Regions from separate parts of the Homo sapiens genome. Here region 1 is linked to region 2. The links are contacts of gene promoters, found by promoter capture Hi-C in blood cells and fetal thymus (Javierre and others, 2016). All regions are on one chromosome and are shown on one strand. The core of a region is centred on a gene start or on the middle of the fragment in contact, and the rest is flanking DNA. Distances in the headings are between cores, read along the strand shown.

Region 1 (4,528 bases), core at 1,622-4,121, 4.9 Mb after region 2:
ATCCTTGTTTCCTGGCTTTATACTTTGAAATATTTATGTTCGTGTGGTCTTGTTGTTAAAAGCTCCATTTTGCTCTTGTTCAAATTTGGTAAATTTTTGTAATCTCTTATTCTTTTGTCATACTTTTGCATTCCTCTCTTATTTCTTAAACATATTAAACACACATATTTTAGACATTCTAAATGTGGTAAATAAAATATACACAAATTTTGTAAGTCTGCCTCTAAGCACAGTTTGTTGTTCCTGGAAATTCTCTCATGATGTTTTATTTGTTCTTTTATTTCTCATCTGCTTAGGATTGTGTGGGTAGGAGTATGAATTCATGATCCTTGGAACTTCATGTGTGGGGATCTTTTAAGGACTGGAATCAAAATAACTTCCCTGTAGTGAAGATTTGCAACTGCCTTTGCAGGTCCTCGATGGTACTTCTAACCTGGGATCACTGAAAACACATTTTGGGGGAATTGAGCCCACTAGCAGTATATATTCCTGTCCCAAATTCATGAGTGCAGGCCTTTGGGTAGAAATTCTTCTGGGAGATATTGCTGTTTGTGTGTGCTTTTTTCTCTGATCCACCCACAGTTAGGTTAACAGTAGGTTAGCATCCCTATCTTCTTCCTCTTTGGGGGCTTTTTTTTTTTTTTGGCTTACCCCCAAGATATCTCCCTATGTGAGACTTGGCTTTTGGGGGTGGGGTTGTCGCTGATATGACATCCCCTAATTTTGGCCCCAGACTTTGTCTCCATTGCCCTTCTATGTGGCCTGTAACCTTCCATCTGCATCCCACCCGAGACTGTCTACATCCCACCCTGTTCAAATCTAGGGCAAATGGTTTCAGTGCTCCTTTCTCCTGGGGAGTTAAGCTTTCTTGTCCTTTCTCACTTTGAAGAGATTCCTTTATTTGCTGCTAGCTCAACTGTGCATTAAAAATATTTTAGTACATGCCTGTAATCCCAGCACTTTGGGAGGCCGAGGTGGGCAGATCACAAGGTCTGGAGTTCGAGACCAGCCTGGCCAATGTGGTGAAACCCCGTCTCTACTGAAAAATACAAAAATTAGCTAGGCATGGTGGCAGGCACCTGTAGTCCCAGCTACTCAGGAGACTGAGGCAGGGGAATCGCTTGAACCCGGGAAGCAGAGATTGCAGTGAGCTGAGATCGCACCACTGCACTCCAGCCTGGGTGACAGAGTGAGACTTCATCTCAAAATATAAAAGTTAAATATATATATATTTTAGTCAGCATCTTAATCATGCTATTAGTCTACAATTCTGCAGAAACCCCCTCTTTATTTTTGACTTCTACTGGGCTCTACTGACAATGAGTGGGCAGGTTTGTGGTTTCCAGGAGTACCCAGGGATTATGGATTTAAAGCACATTTCAGGCTTCATCTAAGAGAGGTGAAGATGTTTGCCCTTCTTAGACAAGGGAGCCAGGCAGTCCTCTGCAGGTCTACCTTGCAGAGCATCAACAGGGGAAGCCTGCTCCTTCCTCAGGACGCTGGTCCATTGCAACTGTAAAAATATTCTGTTTTAAAAATATTCTCTTAAAATGATTTTTATATTAGTCTTTATTTTGGTCACTGTAAATGTTGACCTGAATATGGATATGACTAAATTTAAAAGTAAATGTATCATTCCTGCAAACTGACTTCTACCCAAATTAAACTTCAAACTAGTCCTAATTATTTTCTCAAAATGCTTAGCAATTATTTCTAATTTTAAATGAATCAATAGGTAGAAATATATATATTACTATCTTTTTACATGACCACTAGAAATTGTGTGTGTTAACTGTTCTTTGAGGTTTTTGTGAGAAAACATTTTGGTTGACTAAGTCCATGCAAGTTTCAGAACTGAGAAGGGAAGTGTTTAATCAAATCTGGAATTATATAAAAAGGTTGTGAAATTATCTGGGGTAAAATCTATTGAATAAGGTGGATATAATCTTGAAATCCTTAATGTGTTTTGTTCTTTTTTCTTGCAGAAAAAGAAGAACCTCACATATGAATGCATACAATATGGCAGTGAGAAGGGGCAATGCACCCAGGAAAAAGGCAGGCTCCAGAGAACAGGCAGAGAGACCTAGTTTGCAACTTCTGTCTGCCACTCACCGGCTCTTGCAGCATGGCTCTTATGCCATAGGCTGTGCACGGTGAAATCTGCCTCGGGATGGCTGCTCTGAGCACTGTGCCTGGTGCCCAGGTCCCCAGGCAGCCGAAAACACACTGCTTTTGCTTTCCACGCACAAATGTGCCTCATGTGGTCAATTCCCGGGACCTGCTCTACAGGCCCAAGGTAACCAGCATCTTTCTTCTTCCAAGAGATGATGGAAATGACTATAAACCAAGTCTAATCTTTCTGCCACTTTTTGTCGTTTCTTTCCCCAGCTTAAGATGGTGAAAACACAGGGTCTGGGGGAGAGGAAACACATTTTATCTTAGGCCATTGGGTACTTCATGAGGATATTGGAATCAGCAGGCAGGTTTAGAGAATCTGCTTCGTGCTTTTCACAAGTCCACATTTTCATTGATGTTAAGGTCACTTAGCCTGCCTGTGCCTCAGCTTTAGAAGCAGATACAATGATAGTAATATCTGATTTTCAAGCATGTTCTAAGGAAGACAGAGATTGAGTATTCCTTGGTTTAAAAGAAAAACCAAGTTAGTTCTGAAAAACTCTTTATCAAGCAAAGATTTTTGTAATGCCTAATTAGTTAAAATTAGTGGCATGAAATTACTTCAATAATTAACAATATTGTAATATCTATGTTTAAACTTGAAAATTTCATGTAAATCCCTGCCCATTCCATCCCCATAAAACAAAATGAAAATCAAAGATAAAGGCAAAAGAAAGCGATCAAAATTACTTCATCTCAATAGTGAAAGACTGCTAATTCTATAAACTAACAAACCACCAGGACCTTGCCAGAATAACAAAATGCAGTGCGGTTTTGTTAATGCAAAGAAATGTCTTTTTTCTGTGTGTGTTTTGCTTGTTTGTTGTTTTTTTGAGACAGAGTCTTGCTGTGTTGCCCAGGCTGGAGTGCAGTGGCATAATCTTGGCTCACTGCAACCTCCACCTCCCAGGTTCAAGCAATTCTCCTGCCTCAGCCCCCTGAGTAGCTGAGGTTACAGGCATGCACCACCACGCCTGGCTACTTTTTCATATTTTTAGTAGAGACGGGTTTCACCATGTTGGTCAGGCTGGTCTCAAACTCCTGACCTCAGGTGATCCTGCCTCAGCCTCCCAAAGTGCTGGGATTACAGGCGTGAGCCACCGCACCCAGCCCAAGAAATGTCTTTTGAGCGGAAATGTCTTGTGAGGTCAAATTCTCATTATCTGAATGGACATTTCTTGGGGGCACTGTATTTTGTGTCGAAAAAAAGTTTTAAGCCCTACCAAAAATTTGGGGATGACTCTTATAAAAATATGATTTATGATACACTTGTCTTGTTTCATAATTGCTACACCAAGACAAAAGACAATTACCAGGGGTGCAAGGAGCCCCATGAAGCCATGAGAAACTATAGGTGCTCCCCTTTCCACCTCGATCTGAAAGACATGCAAGTATTCCTAACCCTTTTTAACAACAACAATTCCAGGCAAGTTATATTGCGATTATTTTTTAATAATCACTATCACAATAATACAGACATTCCTGTAGGCTAAATGCCTTTTAATAAAGGACTCTATCATCTTTCCCCAGAGACTTTTTTTTTTTTTTTTTTAACCAAAGGAAACGTAGTGGTCAGAAAACACAGGGCAACAGGCCAGGAAGGGCTTTCTCCTCACAGCTGCACACTTTCACTCGCACAACCAAGTCTTCCTGAGCAGGGGGTGCGCAGGGCTCTCCTTTCTGGAGGTCAGATTCGGGTTGTCCAAACATTTGCCAATGTGACTGTGGTTTTCCATTAAGATATAGTGAGTCTTGGATTATCTGCGAGTGGTCAGGGTGGGAGCAGGTTCCTTGGCAGGTGGGAGAGGTGCCCTGGGGCGGGCAGAGCGCTGGGCATGTGCAGTTTGGCCATCCCACAGGGTCAGTGACTCTGCAACCCTCCTTCAAAACACGGTGGGGCACAGCAGGATGCAAAGACACAGAGACAGATTACTTCATCGCAAACATGCTTTTGCCTCTGAACTCCAACTCCTGAAACATTCCAAGGTGTTATTTTCTTACAAAACTGTTGCAATATTCGAAAAGTATCTAATTTCTCAATGCTGTCTGTAAAGCTCTTTATTGGAAGTTCCCTCTCAAGCGCTTTAGAAGCGTTGCCGCCACTGGCTCATGCAGTCTTTGCTTCTGTGGAAACGGCCCCTTTGAAATATACATGAGGAACATGTTTGAAAAAAGATGGCATTGGGTGGATTTGAAATACGCCTTTTGTTTCTTTTCTTTCCTAAGCCTGTTCTTGGTCTGAAGAAGGAGAGCTTCCATATGAAAGAACCGTTTTGAGAGCCAGGGTTCATGATCAAAGCGCAGAGCTCTCCCTGCTGGGGAGGACAGGCGGCTGCAGGGCTCACGTGGGCAC
Region 2 (4,043 bases), core at 573-3,072:
CCTCCAGAACTGCAAGAATGTATGTCTGTGTTTTTTTTTTTTTTGAGACGGAGTCTCGCTCTGTCGCCCGGGCCGGACTGCGGACTGCAGTGGCGCAATCTCGGCTCACTGCAAGCTCCGCTTCCCGGGTTCACGCCATTCTCCTGCCTCAGCCTCCCGAGTAGCTGGGACTACAGGCGCCCGCCACCGCGCCCGGCTAATTTTTTGTATTTTTAGTAGAGACGGGGTTTCACCTTGTTAGCCAGGATGGTCTCGATCTCCTGACCTCATGATCCACCCGCCTCGGCCTCCCAAAGTGCTGGGATTACAGGCGTGAGCCACCGCGCCCGGCCCAAATGTATGTCTGTGTTTTAAGCTGTCAAGTTTTGTGGTGATTTGTTACAGCAGCCAAACGAAACTAATTCACTTTGGTTATAGAGTTTAAAGCCAGCAAAATTTGGCTGTTTTTTTTCTTTTTAAATTAGTTTTCTTATTAAAAAAAATACAGATGGGGTCTTGCTGTGTTACCCAGGCTGGTCTCAAACTCTTGGGCTCAAGTGATCCTCCCAGCTTGGCCTCCCAAAGTGCTGGGATTACAGGCATGAACCACCAAGCCCAGCCAAAATTTGAAATGTTGATGACTAAAATATTTAAATTAAATTTACACCTGTGCTGACTCTTGTCATCATAAAAGTGAGTTTTTGTTTTACATCTGTTTATTGAAAAGGGGCAAAGAGCTCTCCTGTAAAACCAAGAGGATTTCTTTTAATGCCTCTAAGATCTGTTGACTTGTAACTTTGAGATTATGAATGTCTGTTCCTGGCAAGTGTTGGAATGTTTGTGGCAAAAAATAAACTGTGAAGCTTCATTTGCTGGACAGTTTACCCTGAGCACTCTAGGGATGATGACCTCAGTATGACCACGGTCGTTCCGGTTCTAATAAATTTAACCAGCTCTGGGTATACATAGCTCTGAGAGGACTCTCTGCAGATGAGGAACTTAGCTAAAATATTCCTCTTTGTAAAGTCATTTCACAAAGTGACTGCAACCGTGTAATTTTTTTAACATAATGTAAACACTTTTTTGCCCAATGCAATTACTTTGTTAAGTTTTAGTCTATCTTCATCATAAACACTTTTAAACAATTGAGTTGCCATTACGTTGTAGGTAAGTGAGCATTTTGCAATGATTTCGGGTCTCATAGTCGATAAATCGAAATGGTTCCTAGATAAAACACTCAAGTATAGATGTCACCAATGCTAAGGGGAAAGTTTTGCCTGATACTCTTAAGGACGCTGAGTGCCGCGTAAGGCCCCTGGTCCGGGAGGAGGGCTCTCTGGGCTCGTCTGGCTTGGGCATGTAGACCGGACAGCTCCCCGGGCCAAGGGCGCTTACCCCGCGGACCACCGCAGCACGTCGGCCGGCTGGGTGCGGATGGCAGCCTTGGTGAATTGCTTCAGGATGTCCGGCAGCTCCGGGGGAATGTGGATCTGCTGAGCGCAGAACATGGTGTCGGGAAGCGGCATCGCTCTCCGCAGAAGGGACCAGGCTGGTGAATCGCGGCGCGCTGCGAGGAAGAAGGGCGGCTGTCGGCTACGACGCGGTGGACCCGCTAGCAGCGCGGGGCTTGCGGCCAGGGCCGCCTCCCATCCCGTTCCCGAGGTTGGGGCCGGATTCGCGGGGCTCTTACCCGCTCCTCCGCGGGCTTCGGGAGAAATTCGGACCAACTGCCACTCCGACAACACCCTAGACCCTGCAGTTCCCTAGCGCCAGCCGCCACTACGGACGCGCTCGGTATCCAGGCACCCGGGACGCGAGCAGGCCCCGCCCCTGGAGCCGCGCACGCGCACGCGGCCCTGAGCGAGGCGGGGCTGCTCCCGGGCTGGACAAGGAGGTGCTGGCGTAGTCCGACTAGCAGCAGCCGCTGCTCCCCGGTGGTTCAGAGCCGCGCGAGCTGAGCGTTTCGCCTACAAAAGCATCTTCGGATCGGTTTCCCACCGCCGAATGTGAGCGGCGAACTCACGAAGGACTCCCTCTTCCCCTTGCTCTGGCTGCGTGAGGCTGAGGCTAGGGGACTCGGGCCTGCTAGGAGGGAAGCGGGTTAAGTGAAGGGGCTGATCGCCTGGGCGGCACGGGCCCCGCTGCGGGACCCGCCTGCGCCTGGGGCCGCTCCTCCAAACTTCTCGGGCTTCGAACTTCGCACATGCTGTTCCCTGGCCTAAGCCATCCCGTAGTGAACCTGAGTTCTTAATTTAAAAAGCCGCTTAGACAGTGGGCAGTTTCCAGCTAAAACACTATTGTATTTGTTTTCTTACGATAGGTTGCTTGAGCCAATGTGACTGGCTCTAGGAGGAAATAAATCACATCTGTCAAAAGAGCCTCGAGTCGAAGGATAGGAGAAACCTCGAATTTGGTGGGTGCTGACCAAGGCACCATGCAAGGGGTTAACTTTGCTTTAGGGGGTGACCTGGCTGGCTGCTGCAGTTGCCGTTAACAGCCACCGAATGGATGAGACTCCAGATCCACCTCCTCCTGCGTTCCTCAAAACAGGAAGATGGAGAACTACGGAGAGCTACTTCCCAGAGGGGCCGATGGCAAGCACTCCCTTCAAGGAAACTGGGGAAGTTGCCCGATTTTGATCGTTTCCATCCAAACACCCACCAGACAATATATACATACACATTTCTAAATTAACAGCATTGGCAAAAACTGAAAATACTTGTATTTAAAGTTGATGACAGTATGAAAACAAGAAATCCGTCCGGGCGCGGTGGGTCACGCCTGTAACCCCAGCACTGATCACAAGGTCAGGAGTTCGAGACTAGCCTGGCTAACATGGTGAAACCCCCTTCTCTACAAAAATTGGCTGGGCGTAGTGGCGCGTGCCTGTATTCCCAGCTACTTGGGAGGCTGAGGCAGGAGAATAGCTTGAGCCCGGGAGGTGGAGGTTGCCGTGAGCAGAAATGGCACCACTGCACTCCAGCCTGGGCGACAGAGTAAGACTCTGTCCCCGCCCCCCTCCACCCAAAAAAAGAAAAAAAAAAAAAGGAATCTTCTATGTTGTTGAGAGGGATGTTAATTAGTACCTTTATGGGGCAGTAATGTAACACTAAAATTTTTCGATGATCGTGCAATATTACTTCTGGGAACTTACCCTACAGAAATACTATAAAAAGTAATATGGACAAAAATCTTCACCATATAAATTGGGTAAATGTCTTTTGGAAAACAAATCATGGCCTGGCCACACAATGGTATGAAAAGATGCCCGTGTAAAGTGAAAAAAAGCATCTTGTCAAACAATCTGCATAGTATGACACCTTTATTGTGATAAATGATTCTGTGAAGGTATGTCTGGAAGCACACAACTAAACTATTAACAGCAGTTACCTCTGGGAAATAGGACAGGGATTTCAGGTTTTATTTTGGCCATAGACACATTATTTTGATTCTAAATTCATCATTTATTTACTAACTTAGCATTACTATTGAGTACCAAATATTTGCCAGGGAATTGTTCTGGGAATACAGTAATAATTCAGTTTAAAAAAATAAAATCTTTGGAGCTTACATTCAAGTGGGAAACAACATGCAAATATAAACAACAAAGGTAAACCATATAGTATGTTTAAAAGTACAAAAGAGAGCCGGGAGTACAAAATACAGCAGGGAGATGAGACAGGAATGCCCCAGTAGCTGCAGCTTTAGATAAGCCTCAGTGAGAATGACACTTCAGGAAAGAAATGAAGAGGCTAAAGAGCCTGAAGAACATTTGGGTATTGCAAATAGTAAGTGCAAAGGCACGAAGGCCTGACCTGTTTTGGAGGCAGGGAGGACGGCAGGAGCAGGGTGAACACAGAGGTGATGGGGTCAGAGAAGGGAGAAAAGGGGTGCTTCATGTTTTGCCCAGCATTGAAGGCTATTGTGGACTTTTGAGTGCCATGGTCGTCTATTGGAGAGTTCTGAGGGTTGGTGTGATCTGACTTGGATCTCAAGAAGAACATTCTGGATTCAATGTTGAAAACAAATGGAAAAGGAGAGAGAGCAGGGGCAGAGGCAGCAAG

Evidence for each region. The method cuts DNA at HindIII sites, captures the fragments that hold promoters and counts their contacts. A CHiCAGO score of 5 or more calls a contact.
Region 1: a fragment that was not itself captured here is called in contact with the fragment with the promoter of ROPN1L-AS1 in region 2 in 1 of 17 cell types (total CD4 T cells); the score reaches 5.6 in total CD4 T cells.

Annotation. Positions count from the first base shown.
Region 1 is chr5:5,497,299-5,501,826 of GRCh38, reverse strand. No RefSeq gene overlaps it. Among named protein-coding and RNA genes, the nearest start is that of ICE1, 77 kb to the right of the region's middle. RefSeq lists enhancers at 3,487-4,009, 4,010-4,528. The HindIII fragment of the contact is 4,011 bases long and covers 866-4,528 here.
Region 2 is chr5:10,439,630-10,443,672 of GRCh38, reverse strand. ROPN1L-AS1 (ROPN1L antisense RNA 1) reads left to right here and starts at 1,822. Exons shown (of 2, transcript NR_102746.1): 1 at 1,822-1,985; 2 at 2,300-2,938. It overlaps ROPN1L (rhophilin associated tail protein 1 like), which reads right to left and starts at 1,794. Exons shown (of 5, transcript NM_031916.5): 1 at 1,375-1,794. The coding sequence starts at 1,505. MARCHF6 (membrane associated ring-CH-type finger 6) reads right to left here. Exons shown (of 26, transcript NM_005885.4): 26 at 3,285-4,043. RefSeq lists a silencer at 1,681-1,940. The HindIII fragment of the contact is 3,763 bases long and covers 845-4,043 here.